Regions from separate parts of the Homo sapiens genome. Here regions 1 and 2 are each linked to region 3. The links are contacts of gene promoters, found by promoter capture Hi-C in blood cells and fetal thymus (Javierre and others, 2016). All regions are on one chromosome and are shown on one strand. The core of a region is centred on a gene start or on the middle of the fragment in contact, and the rest is flanking DNA. Distances in the headings are between cores, read along the strand shown.

What was found. Contacts are between HindIII fragments. The CHiCAGO score rates a contact against its expected background, and 5 or more counts as called.
Region 1: a contact is called between a fragment that was not itself captured here and the fragment with the promoter of RASSF8 in region 3, in 13 of 17 cell types (endothelial precursors, M1 macrophages, megakaryocytes and 10 more). The highest score is 23.7, in endothelial precursors.
Region 2: a contact is called between the fragment with the promoter of DNAI7 here and the fragment with the promoter of RASSF8 in region 3, in 3 of 17 cell types (M1 macrophages, M2 macrophages and fetal thymus). The highest score is 8.3, in M1 macrophages.

Annotation. Positions count from the first base shown.
Region 1 is chr12:25,433,189-25,438,040 of GRCh38, reverse strand. It overlaps the pseudogene FAM133GP. Among named protein-coding and RNA genes, the nearest start is that of LMNTD1, 120 kb to the left of the region's middle. The HindIII fragment of the contact is 4,168 bases long and covers 884-4,852 here.
Region 2 is chr12:25,193,385-25,197,805 of GRCh38, reverse strand. DNAI7 (dynein axonemal intermediate chain 7) reads left to right here and starts at 2,646. Exons shown (of 16, transcript NM_018272.5): 1 at 2,646-2,730. The coding sequence starts at 2,728. It overlaps ETFRF1 (electron transfer flavoprotein regulatory factor 1), which reads right to left and starts at 2,569. Exons shown (of 3, transcript NM_001001660.3): 1 at 2,469-2,569. RefSeq lists an enhancer at 2,209-2,328. The HindIII fragment of the contact is 2,518 bases long and covers 485-3,002 here.
Region 3 is chr12:25,956,683-25,961,355 of GRCh38, reverse strand. It overlaps RASSF8 (Ras association domain family member 8), which reads right to left and starts at 2,674. Exons shown (of 6, transcript NM_001394098.1): 1 at 2,208-2,674. It overlaps RASSF8-AS1 (RASSF8 antisense RNA 1), which reads left to right and starts at 1,914. Exons shown (of 4, transcript NR_038228.1): 1 at 1,914-2,030; 2 at 4,592-4,673. RefSeq lists silencers at 2,063-2,112, 2,253-2,302, 2,373-2,472, 2,573-3,062. The HindIII fragment of the contact is 3,942 bases long and covers 1,049-4,673 here.

The DNA.
Region 1 (4,852 bases), core at 1,718-4,217, 520 kb after region 3:
TGAGCCTGACAGCATGAACCTCACTTACCAATGCCTGTCTACCTACTGTTACCTCTGAACATCCGAAGAAATAAACATTGAATCTTCAATATGGCATATTCCTTGAGGGAATCAACCAGCCACTTAGTAGCAAGTTGACCACATGGAACCCTTCCATCCTGGAAAGACCAGTCAGCCGTTCATCCTCACAGGGACAGATACCTGTCCTAAGCGTGTGTTTTCCTTTCCTGCCTGCACAGCCTTAGCCAGCACCATTACCAAGGGCTTATGGAGTGCCTCATCCACAGACCTGGAAACCCACACAACAAAGCATCCAACCAAGAGACCTACTTCACCATGAAGGCAGTGTGAGAGTGGGCCTGTGACCCTGGGAACGACAGATCAAATCACATACTGCACCATCCCGAGGTGGCCAGCTTCATAGAATGCTGAAACAGCCTACTCCAGCTAGGTAACAAAAGTTATTTGTCATTTTTATCATTCAAATGGCATATTTCACCATGGGGATGCGAGAAGCAGAAAATCCTGATGTGCAGAGAGAAATGAATGAAGTAATTACATAGAAGGAAGCAGATGCAGCAGACTGAGAGAGATTGAGTACCGACAGATCTCAGGTGTCCAGTTACCCACAGCCCACAAGACACCTCTGTTTTCTTTTTCTTCTTCAAGTTCTGGGATACATGTGCAGAATGTGCAGGTTTTTTATGTAGGCATAATGTGCCATGGTGGTTTGCTGTACCCATCAACCCGTCATCTAGGTTTTAAGCCCCACATGCATTATTTGTCCTAATGCTCTCCCTCCCCTTGCCCCCCACCCCCCAAAAGGCCCCGGACACCTCTATTTTCTAATAATTAATCTACCCCCCTTTTTCATAAGCAAGCTTGATTTGGTTCCTGTTATCTGCAACTAAAAGATCTTATCTGATACAATACATTTCAAAGAGGCAAACTTCTGCCTTCACCTGATGAACTTTCCAATAAATAATACAGTTGTTCCAAAATGGAAAACGCTTCTCTTATCATTTTGAGGTTTAGACAGCCCTTCATCACTGTGTAGAAGAAATTCTGTCTATTATAAATAGTTGAACTAGATAAACTGAAGGTCCCTTGCTAGTTTGAGATCCTCTGACAAATATCAGGAAAGCCATGATATGGAAAATAGAATAGTTTCACTCTTTTGGGAAATAAAAAATAATGAGTCTCCAAGTGCTCGATAACATTCCAAGAAAGGATGTGTGAGAGTGTATTACATTGCAGGGGGAAAACTGACAGATTCTAGATTTAGCGTTTGTTGGAAAACTGGAACCAAAGTTTACAATGATTTCTCTTTTATTAAATTAATACACACAAAAAGCCTAGAAGCTCAGTATTTGGGATGCATAAAATATAAAAATAAAATATTAAATGAAGTAGCTTTTAAATGTATGTTTTTATTTACTGGCTGAAATGAAAATTGAAAAAGATTGCACAAAATTTTTTGGCAAAATGCTGTAGTATGCTTTCTCTTGATATCACTGCCAACAATGCCCTCTAGTGGTAAACCAAGTAGGCACTGACTAATGGGGGGAAAATGAAACAAGCAAGCCTGCTAAACACATTGGTAAGATTTTCATGAAAATACGAACTTTTAGTGCAGAAGGACCTGCGGCAGGCCTACTTCAGCTGCCTCCCGAGCCAGGTTTCCCTTGGTGGGTGACCGTGTCCCTTGATGAGTGACTGTGCGCTCACTCGGGCACCAAGGAGAAGCAGGACCATCGGGTAGCCTATGTGAATCCAACAGCAATGGCCAGATCAAGGGGTCCAATCCAGTCTTAAGGGCCAACAATCCAGGATTCTCTCCGTCAACCAAGGCCTATCTGGGAAGAAGTGCAAGAGCAACTAGAAAAGAAAAAGAAAAAGGCGCCAAGGCTTTGTATGAATTTGAAGAAAAAACTAGAAAAACACAGGAAGAAATTGTTAAGTGAAAGTAAGAGCTTATCCAAAAAAAGAGAAAAAAAAAGAAAAAGAATAAATCTGGTAGGTATTCATCGTCTTCATCATGCTCTGATTCTTCCAGCAGTTCTTCTGATTCTGAGGATGAGGATAAGAAACATGGAAAAGGGAGAAAGAAAAAGAACCATTCACATAAATCTTCTGAAAGCTCCATGTCAGAAACTGAATCAGACAGTAAGGATAGAAAGACAATAAGGAAGAAAGACTTCTTTTTAAAGAAAAAGAAGGACCCAACTGAGAAAGAAAAAGGCTATTAAACGACTCAGCAAAAAGAAACCCATATTCTGAAGATAAATCTTTATCACCTGAGTCCTTGTCAGAATCAGAGTATATTGAGGAGATAAGAGCAAAAAAGAAGAAAAGCAGTGAAGAATGAGAAAAAACAACACAAAAAAAGGAAAAAGGAGCATGAGAAAAACAGTAAGAAGAGAAAGAAGGCTGCTAGTTCAAGTCCTGACTCATCATAATATTAAGAAAAATCAGGATTCCCTTATAGAGAAAGTACAATGTCTAAGGAAATTTCAACTGTGAAAATTACAACATATTTACTATAATGCATGAATTTTCTTGTTTTTAGAATTATCCTTGGACTGGCCAGACGCAGTGGCTCACGCCTGTAATCCCAGCACTTTGGGAGGCCAAGGCGTGTGAATCACCTGAAGTCAAGAGTTTGAGACCAGCCTGACCAACAGGGTGAAACCCCGTCTCTACTAAAAATACAAAAATTAGCTGGGCCTGGTGGCTGGTGCCTGTAATCCCAGCTAGTTGGAAGGCTGAGGCAGGAGAATCACTTGAACCCGGGAGGCAGAGGTTGCAGTGAACTGAGATGGTGCCACTGCACTCCAGACTGGGCAAAAGAGCAAGACTCCATCTCAAAAAAAAAAAAAGAATTATCCCCAGACTACCCAGTAGCTATTCAAATGCCGCTGTGTGCAAGGGCCGTAAATGTTGCCTGCTGCTTATCTATTCTTTTCTCTTCCAGTGCTTGATAACTCTGGGAGATAATACATTGCAGTAGCACTAGTGGTTACAATATTTGGGAATAAAATTAATATTTTTGACTAGAAGTGTACAATGATAAATCAACAGAAATCCAACTTGAATACATCTTTAAGGTGGAATCAGAAACGGCCAGATGTTAAAAATTTTAAAGTAGTTAAAATTTTTGAAGTAAGGATTACATTGACATTTCAAAATCCGTACTCTGTAGATCAGTGTATTTTAATTTTTTCCCCGTGTAGACTTTTATTTACCTGGGAAAGGTGCTTTTTAGGATGCAGGGAGGAGGTGCTTTGCTGTCTCTTTAAGCTAGGAGAACAACATGCCTTTGATCCTCACACTTCCTGTATTTGAGGAAAGAGTAGCCAGGCTTTATGGAGAGGTCAGAGCTGGGTGCCAGGAGTCTTGCCTTTTACTGAGCTTAGGGACATCCTTGGATTTTGTCATACGCTTCTTTGAATGAACCAGAGAAACAGCCCTTTTGCAGCATGAGAAAGCCCCAAAACCCCTGGGATTTACCTCCACTTCAATAATACTGAATATTTTTTAGCATTAGAATATGCTGGGTCATTTGAATTAATTTTGATGACACTTTGGCTTTGGAGAGAAATGGTTTCAAATAGACACTGGTACACTGGTACTTTTTGAACTTGAAAACTAAATATTCTAAAGTGCATGTTTCATACCATAAAGTTTTAATTAGTCAGGAAAATTCCATGTAACCAGTGATAGTTCCTTTATTTTTTGTATGAAGTTTGTTTAGGCTGCAATGTTTAGCTTTTGTTAACTCCTTTCTCTTGCTGTCTTAAGTTCACTGCTGTGTTTAATGGCACACTTGCCAAGATATTGAGCATATAAAAAGCAGGGTTTTGATTTTTAAAAAAAATACAGCTTCATATTGAGGCTGAGACTTACCATAAACAAGTTGAGTAGCAAGCCTGGTATGCTGTGTCTTGTTACATAAAGCTATCGCCAGAATCTTAGTAAATATAATGTCTTAAAAGTTAAAAAAAAAAAAACAGAAAAAAGAAAATATGAACTTTTACACTTCCAGTTGGTAACTGAATGTTATATTTGGCAATAAAATGAACCTTTACAAGGTACTGCAGCATATACCTTAAAGCACAAGCATGTCAAAGCCAATTTTCCCCTGTGGTTTTCATGAACATATGCCAAACAGCACAGGAAAATAGCCATCTGTAAGGTCTCATTGGGGCATTTCTGGGTCACAACTTCCACTGGTATCTTAAAAGAAATTAAAATCTGCTTTTATGGAGGATGACATCATTCACCAAAAAAACTGCTTTTAAACCCGATTACCTTCGAGAATTATAGCCATCAGGCACCAACAATGACTCATTCCCACTTTCAAGGCTTTATCTGAATTCTGAACTCATCAACCAGGTAAAGTCTCTTTGCTTGAGAATTCTTCAAACTATAGCTCTCAACTGGTGGGGCAAGCTGGTCAAAACAAGTTACAGTTATAGGAATAAAATTTCTCTAATCCTGGCTCAGCAAAGAGCTTCCCAAAGGAACTGCAGGTGAAGTAAAAGAAAGAAGGCAACTTACACAGCTTATTCCCCTCTAATTCAAACCAGCTCTAGTACTCTTATCTAAATCTGGCTTAAAATTTCTTTGTCTTTGCAAATTGTTCTCCTTTCTCTCCACTCCAAGCCTCCTTCCTTCATACTTTCTAATCATTCTCTCTTCCCTTCAGTAGCTGACTGAATATGTGTATGGTATTAAGAGGCACTTGGAGCCTCTTATGACAACTATATTTGTATGAGAATATTTGCTCTGGATGACTTTGTGTAAAGTATTAACCTACTGGCCTGTTTCAGGAATTCTTTTATTTAAACAG
Region 2 (4,421 bases), core at 1,397-3,896, 760 kb after region 3:
GCAGCGTGAAATAATCTTACTAAGAATGATTCTTAGGCTGGGCATGGTGGCTTGTACCTGTAATCTCAGCACTTTGGGAGGCCAGGGCTGGAGGATGGCTTGAGCTCAGGAGTTTGAGACCAGCCTGGGCAACATAGTGAGTGAGACCTTGTCTCTACTAAAAGTAAAAAAATATTAGCCAGGCATGGTGGCGTGTGCCTGTAGTCTCAGCTATTTGAGAGGCTGAGGTGGGAGGATCGCTTGAGCCCAGGAGGTTGAGGCTGTAGTGAGCCGTGATTGTTCCACCACTCCAACCTGGGCAAAATTCATTTTGAGACCCTGTCTCAAAACAAAACAAACAAAAAACACCTCTTCGGAACCATGTTCTTTTCACATAATTTAAAATTAAATATACATAGATGTAATTTCGAATTGCAAACTATAACCTGTTTAATGCCTAACAGCACAGCTTCATTTAATTCACAATTTGTAACTTGTGAAAGCTTTCAGGGACCTGGCTTAAGTTGTCCTTTTTAGTTGTTGGTCTTTTTACAAATTATGTATCATAAAACACTTGCCCAGCAAAAATGTAACTAGTGTGGCTATGGCAAATTTGTTCTTCTTTGATATGTTAACTTATATGAATTAATGCAGTTTATCTTTTTTTTTTTTTGAGACGGAGTCTTGCTCTGTTGACCCGGCTGGAGTGTAGTGGTGCGATCTTGGCTCACTGCAACCTCCCTCTCCCGGGTTCAAGCGATTCCCGTCTCAGCCTCCAGAGCAGCTGGGATTACAGGTGCTGATCACCACGCCCGGCTAATTTTTTGTATTATTTTAGTAGAGACGGGGTTTCACTGTGTTATCCAGGATGGTCTCCATCTCCAGACCTCGTGATCCACCCACTTTGGCCTCTCAAAATGCTGGGATTACAGGCGTGAGCCACCACACCAGGCAATGCAGTTTATCTTTATGCAGTTGACCTTGAAGCATTTAGGTTTACTTTAGCCACTAAGAGAAATAGGTCTCCTTGGGTTCACAATGTAGTGAATAAACAATTTTGAGTTCAGCAGGGCCCTGAGGCTGCTCCTGAACTCTGCATGAAGTCATGGAGGTTACTGTTTTAAGTAAAGAGCCAAGAGTTAAGGACTAAGAGAAGCCCCCTATTATTCTGAAAACTTGGATGTGTGCGCTGGATGAGACAGCGGTTGCAGTCCCCATTGATAGTTTTTTCCCCCTGTCATTCTAGGCTAAGGAGTTAGGACTTAACCAGTTCCAGTTCCAGGCTAATGGAAAATTGTCATTTTACTGGGGGTTATGTGGTGGCCAAAGTTGTTAATCATTGTTCCCCATGGGGTAGATACAGTGAGAGCTTCAGTAAAGCCTTTCCTCTAAAAGCCCACTATTTTAAGGTAACTTGGGATTACTGAACTATCTCCTTACCCCGATGAATCCTAACTTGAGTTGACTGAGGTGTTTTATCATTAAACATTAGTTTTACTGAAACTAATTTAAAAGGAAGCCTTAACTTTCATATCAAACAGCTATGGTAAACTGAGTAAGAACTCTGTACGAAGTCGCTATTAAAATGTTTTTATCTTGCTACCAGGATATGGATGTAAAATGCTAATAACTATTACACAACCTATAATAGTTACAGGTTACAATAGGGATAATAACACTTTAACCCACAAAGACTAGCTTAGTCCTACTACTTATCTATGAATAATGCATGTAGTCAATAACACTGGAAGGGATAGAGCATTATAAACTTATAATTCAGAGATGAGAAATGGTGCCAGTAATTTAAAAGTATTTCAGGTCTCATAATGCTAAAACAGGGTGTAGGTATGCCCTACAATTACAGAGAACTCAGTCGGGCTTGAGGAGAACAGCCTCACTTAATTGTAGTTTTCCTGTCGGTGTAAGGTGCCGGCGTTTCTTCATGTGGGAGGAGACTGAAATTCTAAAGGTTGTGTGGTTAGTAAAATTAGTCTGTGACCTCGGGAAACTAATGAGTCTTTGGGGCCTCAGCGATCTTCATGTTAAGGAATATTTTAGCCAGGAATTGCTTCATTTTCAATTCTTGTTTAGGGCGCTCTTAGGAAAAAGGACGCGTACGCTGCACAGAAAGTAAACAATAGAGCAGAAAGAAGAATCCGAAGGTCATTAATCTTAAAATAACCAACCCTCTGGAGCCAACTTATTTCTCTCTTTAAATTGCGGAATGAGCCCCATCCCCCTGCTGGATTAAACCGCAGAGGCCCAGGCCTCCCACCGGGTGTCCGCTGCATGAACCAGTCGCATGCCTGTTTCCTTCTCGAAACCCTCACAGAAAGACCCAACACACTCTAGGAAATAAACCGTCAACGTCAGGAGACGCTCAGAACCCTCTTCCCACACCCGGTGGTCCTCGCCCAGAGCATATTTCGCCTCCAGACCCCAGGATCCGGGAAATGGAACAAAACTCCCCGGCGGCGGCACTCACGCACTTTCCGGCACGCCGGAGCCGCAAAAGCCTCGACCGCTACGACTCCTCTGTCCGTCTACTGCGAAGCGGGGTGGCGTTGGGGGAGGTGGGCAACCTGTCAGTAAAGGGGGCGGGGCGCCGGCCGGAAGAGCCTCCGCGCGGCTGCGCTCTTTTCCTGGAGCTCAAGTGGGCGGGGCCTGTCGTCCGGGCAACCCGGGAGCGTTTGTCCACACAATTTCTGCTCCGACTCTGCGGACTACTGCAGTGGAGCTTGACTCTTAATGGTGAGCAAGGCAAATGAGGCAGACAGGTGGAGGGGCGACCACTGATTCTGCTTCACCAGTGTTAAATAATGTAATCAAGAGCCAGTCATATTTTACAGCGAAGCGGGTCGGTTTGGGAAATAACTCATACCTTGGGGTGGGTCGGCCCTCTTCTCAGCAATGGCTTTCCTTACCTGGACCAGGCGGACAGGTAGGAGTCCCAAACCAGTTTCTGCAAACGGGAGATGGTCAAAGCTGTCACACGGTATCCTGATCTCGAATGTTGCTAAGCTTGAAAATTGGTCCCAACCTAGTAACTTTCAGTAGTGATAGACGTTCCCACTAAATTTTCTTATTGCAACTTGGCGGAAATGTTTTAGTACTTCTCCAGCAGTTAATTAAAAGCTAATGCAATTTACTCTGCTTTGAAAAAATATTTTATGTCGTCTTTTGTGGGAATATGAATTGTTTTGTGATTCAAGGTTCTCATCCTGCATTAGTTAAATATGATAAGGCTTCTCATTTTGTTTTTCTGCACTCCTCAACTGCCATGTTTTCAGCAAGGAGACAGGCCAACATGTAGCTATGAGAGTATCTCTGATTTTCTTAAATGTGGTTTCCATCAAGACATTTTCTATAATTAAAACCAGAGGAAGTGGAGAATGTAATTACTTATTTAATTCATTAATTAAGGGAAAAATGTGGAGTGCATTCTTTGTACTTGGCACTGGGCTAGAAGCCAAGAATACCAAGAAGAACATGACGACAACTCTGCTTATAGGATACAGATTAAACAAATTAATTACAATACAGCTTTACAACTGTAACAATTGAAGCATCTAAAATGGGGTAACACACAGTTGGAAATGATGAAATTTCAGTGAGGGGAAACAAGGGAAGGAGAGTGGTGCTTTTCAACCTGTTTTAAAGTATAAATACGAGTTTTCCACATATGGTGGGAAGAAATAGGGAGTGGAGGCCTGGCGCGGTGGCTCACCCCTGTAATCCCAGCACTTTGGGAGGCCGAGGCGGGCAGATCACGATGTCAGGAGTTCGAGACCAGCCTGGTCAACATGGTGAAACCCAGTCTCTACTAAAAATACAAAAATTAGCCGGGCGTGTTGGCGCGCACCTGTAATTCCAGCTACTCAGGGGGCTGAAGCAAGAGAATCGCTTGAACCTGGGAGGCGGAGGTTGCAGTGAGCCGAGATTGTGCCACTGCACTCCAGCCTGGGTGACAGAGCGAGACTCCGTCTCAAAAAAAAAAGAGAAAAAAAGAAATAGGGAGTGGAGAGCATTCCTGGCGGAATGCAAATGGACCTTAAGTCAATTTATAATTGCTAATAAATTGGGGGAACAGTAAGCACTTACTTGTTACCTTCCAATTTGTTACCTGAGTTTCTTCTTCTTCTTAGATCCTTCTCCCAATGTTTCTCAAAGTGTGGCCCATGGAACATTTATTTCTAATGCACCCGGAGTACTTGTTAAAAATGCAGATTCCAGGAACCCACTCAACTCCAAATCTACTGTATTAGTTTCCTAAGTCTGCCAAGTAAGGAATTGCCACAAACTGAGTGGTTAAAGAAAAGAAATTTATTGTCTCGTAGTTCTGGAGACTAGAAGTCCAAGATCAAAGTGTCAGCAGGTCTGTGATACCTCTGAGGGCCTTAGGGAGAGATCTGTTCAGACCTTTCCTGGCTTCTAGTAGTTTC
Region 3 (4,673 bases), core at 1,425-3,924:
CCACTTTTACTTGCAAAGAGTTTTGTAATGTTTTGAACACTAGCAAGATATCTAAGATCTTAATGTTTTATAATAAAGGAGCAAAGCCATTATGCCAGGAATTAACCATAAGAAAAAGACAACAATATCCCACGGCAAACAATATTTTTACTTCCAAGTCATTATATACATCAACATAAAACAGATCAATTAATGAGTCAGAAACCCTGAAGAACTAATCATTTCTCAAAACACAAGGCAGTCAGGTCAAAAACTGACGTAAGTCACCACGTATAGAAGCCTACAAGAGCCAAACACTGAAGATTCAGGTTAAAAGGTTGCAACCTTAAAAAAATAAATAAAAGGCAAAACAAATTATACAACCATGTCGAATTTTAAATCTGTAATTACCAAATATCTGAACCAAATGCCAAATTCAGGAAACATGCATCCTATAAACAACTTAAACACTCTCTGTTCTTTGTAACTGTTTTTTCCAGAAGCACACTGACACTTCTGCAAAGTGAAGTGCCTTTCCTGCCTGCACAGCCCCATGATTTGCTCCCTCTCAGGGCCCTCTAATGCACCCCTAAGCTACTAAAGCCCAGACATAAGATTTGATCAATAAACCTAGAAAGAACTCAGTGCATTACTGCCAATTGTGTCCATCACAGAAAGTACCACCTGGAGACTCTTGAGGAAAAAAATGAGGAAGGGGGAGATTTTTGAAAGGTTTTATCATCTGTATTACAAATTATATTTTGTTGTACTTGATCCTTGAATAGAATAATCATCAAACTATGTTCAGTCTTCTTCAAGTGGGGGATGGTCATGTGTAATTTTATGGTTTGGGGAGTGTGCCTCATAGAGATAAATAAAATTAAAAGTACCATTAGTATGCCCGCTAAAAGATAAAACTCACACAAACCACTTCCCCAAATGATAGTGCTGTCTCCTGCGTCCTGATTTTTGCGTCCACCCTGCACCTCTCCCTGCAGAAAGCTGGCTGGCATTCACTACCGCCTCACTCTGGCAAAGGACAGGATGTCGAAAACCCATTAAGAAAGCTTCTCATTTTCTGTTCCTTCATAACATGATGGCAACTCCTGGCAACTCCAAGATGAAAGGCAAAAAAGAAAATAAAAACTACCTGGGGCCCCCTACCAGAATGAGTGGTTAATCTAATGGAGAGAAAAGCAGAGATTTATACATATTTTAAAATGCTTCCTGGGGACAAAGCAGATCTAATGAATTGCTGAGCCACAATCTACTGGAAAATCCATAAATGTTCGTCCCTGCTGTCACAGGGCTAGAGGATTTTTTTTTTTAATGAAATGCTTTAATGCTAACCTGACAGGGCTAACCTGACAGGTTTAAGTCAGCTATGAGACGTGATTTGCATTCATTTCGCTTCTAAATCCCTAAAGATCAGCAACAATATTGACCCGCAATTATATATCCTACGTTGCACTGTTCAAGATGCCATTTGAGGCTGGGAAAGTAGTGGTTTAGCAACACCAGGCGGCTCTATGATGCTAAAATAACAACGCAACACTGGATTCCGAACCCAAGTACTCATCTTTTAAAACCCAGTGCCGCACCAGGACCCACATTCAAAGCTCGCGTCCCTTCAAGTTGAATCTTCCGGCTTTGTGCGATTTACCCTCTCAAACTTTCTAGTTTGCAAGTCAGAATTACTTTGAACGTCCCCTCTTCTGGACTCCCCTCCCCAAAGGGACTGGCGGCAAAGGAGAATAGAATGCAGATGGTTAATAGTTCAAATGAAATTTAAAAACCTATAAACCAATATTTTTTTAGAGGAGAAAAGCGTTCACCAAACCGCCACCCGGCAAGCGAGCATCCGATTTCCATCCGGAGGAAAAAATATTTTAAAAACCAGACATAAAATTCCCTTTGCAAGAAAAGTGGCCTCTAAACTCCCTTGCCAAGGACACTGGGAGGAAGCAGAAAAGCAAAGACCAAGCTCGTACTTTTCAGTCCGCGGCTTGTGTGCCGCGAGGAGAGGCGCAAAGGGTGACACACCAGGAAAGGTGAACGCAGAGGGAGCGGGAGCCCGCGGCGGGGCAGGGTGGGGGCGGAACGGACGAGGTACCCAAGGTGCGGAGAGAGGGGCAACCGGGCGGAGGGCAGCTCCGAGGCTGCAGGCGGGACGGGCGGGGTCCCCGGCGCAGCCCGGATCGCCGCCGCTAAGTAAAGTTAATACTTACTCAGTTTCGCAACTGCGCCGCCCCCGCAGGCCGCCCAGAGGGGCCGGCCGGGGCGCTGGGGACGCGGCGGCACCCGGAGCTCCGCGGCCGCCCAGCGCCCGTCCCCGCGCCGCACTCCCCGGCACTCCCCGGCGCTCCCCGCGCCGCGCGCCCCGCACCGGCTGGAGGCCCCGGCCCCCCGGCGTTCCCTCTCCGCGCACCTCCCGGCCCGCGCTAGGTGAGTGTGGACGCCACTGGCGGGGGTGCCGCGGTGCGCGAGCGCTCGGCCAGCGGCAGAGACGCCGCGGGAGCCGCCCCCAGCGCCAACGCCGCCGCGGGCGGGAAGGGCGAGGCTCGGCGAGGCTGGGCGAGGAGCTGGGCGGCAGACGCTGAGCGGGGCGCGGCGCGGGGCGCCGGACGAGCGCGGGCGTAGGAGGAGCGCGGGCGTAGGAGTCGGCGACCCGCTCGCTCCCGCGGCCGGTGCCTCTGGGCTGGGGGCCGGGCTGGGGGCCGGGCCGGGCCGGGCCGGGCCGGGCGGCCAGGCGGCTCCGCCCCTTCGCCGGGCAGCGGCTGAGCGCGCGAGAGGAGCGGCGCGGGGGCGCCCCCCTCGGCCGGGCGCTCGGGTTTCAGCCGCCGCTCCTCCGCGCCCCGCCCGCGCCTGGCCCGCTCGCCGGCGCCGGGAGAGACCTCGTAACGGAACTGGGACGCCAGCGCTGCATTGTGGGAGCTTTTAAAGCGGCGGGGAGCTCGGCGCGACCCTCGGGCCCACCGGGCCACGCTCGCCCGGCCCGCGACGCCCCCCCGCTGTCGCCTGGCCCGCGACGCACCGAGGCCTGAGGACCCGAAAGCCGGGCGCGGGGAGATGACCGGTGGCTCGTGACGGTCCCACGGGCAAAATCTTCCATCGCCCGGGGCTGAGACTTGTCAAACTGCCCTCTACGGTCACCCGGAAAGTAGGAGGCTTTTTCTGCAGAGGGGAAAAAAATCAAAAAGAGCCGTTCCATCCCCCCTCCAAGGACTGGGTTTGAATTGCTTTTCATCTGCAGTGGCTGTGATTCAGCGTCCCTCTTAGCAGCAGGCAATGACAGAGGCAGGAGAGGGGAAAAAAAAAAAGAAAGAAAGAAAAAACACAGCAAATGAATCAAACGGACGTGAGTAACAAAAGTTTAGAAAGAGCTGGGCTCGTATTCAGAAAAAACGCCTCATCCCCCCGCCCCGCTGCACTCCCAACCCCTTTAAAAATAGCAGATAATCAAGAAAGGAAACGGGTGCTTTCATATGGAAATACAGATGTGTATGTTGTTTTCAATATTCTACTGTTTTTTTGTGTGTGGCATGCAATTACTCAGGCACTGGGCAAAATTCAGCCTTTGGATTTTGTGGTCACACATACCCCAACTCCGCAACAGCTATTAATTTGCAGGGCGATGGGGTGCGGATAGTGGATGAGATACAAGAAAGCATTCCAATTAAAATGCCCCCCCCCACCCCGCCTTTTAATTTTCCAGACACTTGCTTTTATTTTTCTTTTTTTAAACATCATCAAAACAAGAATATTAAACTTGAAGCAGAATTTGTTACAGCGTATCTGACTCAGGACCTGATTTAAGGTTTGGGGTTTTTTGGCCCTTTGTTTCTTCCTCTTGTTTTTTGACCTTTAGTTACTCCACACCTCATTAGTTCCTTGACCTGCAGGTGGACTGAGAAGAGAGCCATGGTAAGACTCAAATTTGTCAAATCAACATTTGGAGAGGAGAAAGTTCACTGTGATTCAAATGCAAAACCAAAGGGAATATGATTTAAAAGTCAACCTGGAGGGCATGGATCCTCCCTTAACCCTACTTGACTCTTTTCAAAGGAGTTGCCTAGCCTTAAGGTGAATGTTTCCTAACCTCTCATTCCCTTCTCAGCCTTTCACTCCACTGAACAACATCAGCCATTGCTTAATTGCCAAATCTAATGGAAAAATTTAATTCCCATCTTGTGCCCTTTGTGGCATTTGCCAATGTTGACCTCTCCTTCTTAGAACTTTCTGCCTTTTGGCCGGGCGCGGTGGCTCATGCCTATAACCCCAGCACTTTGGGAGGCCAAGGCTGGCAGATTGCCTGAGGTTGGGAGTTCGAGACCAGCCTGACCAACATGGAGAAACCCCGTCTCTACTAAAAATACAAAATTAGCCGGGCATGGTGGCACATGCCTGCAATCCCAGCAACTGGGAGGCTGAGGCAGGAGAATCGCTTGAACCTGGGAGGCAGAGGTTGCAGTGAGCCGAGATCACGCCATTGCACCCCAGCCTGGGCAACAAGAGCGAAACTCCATCTCAAAAAAAAAAAAAAAAAAAAAAAAAAAACTTTCCTCCTTTCTTTGGCTGTGGTAGTGATCCCTCTTTTGTGTACTTCTTGAAGCAGGTAGCAGGCAAGAGTGTGGTTATCGTTGGACCAGGATTCAGGATCTGACTGAGTAGCTGACTCTTAATCCAGTTTGTGT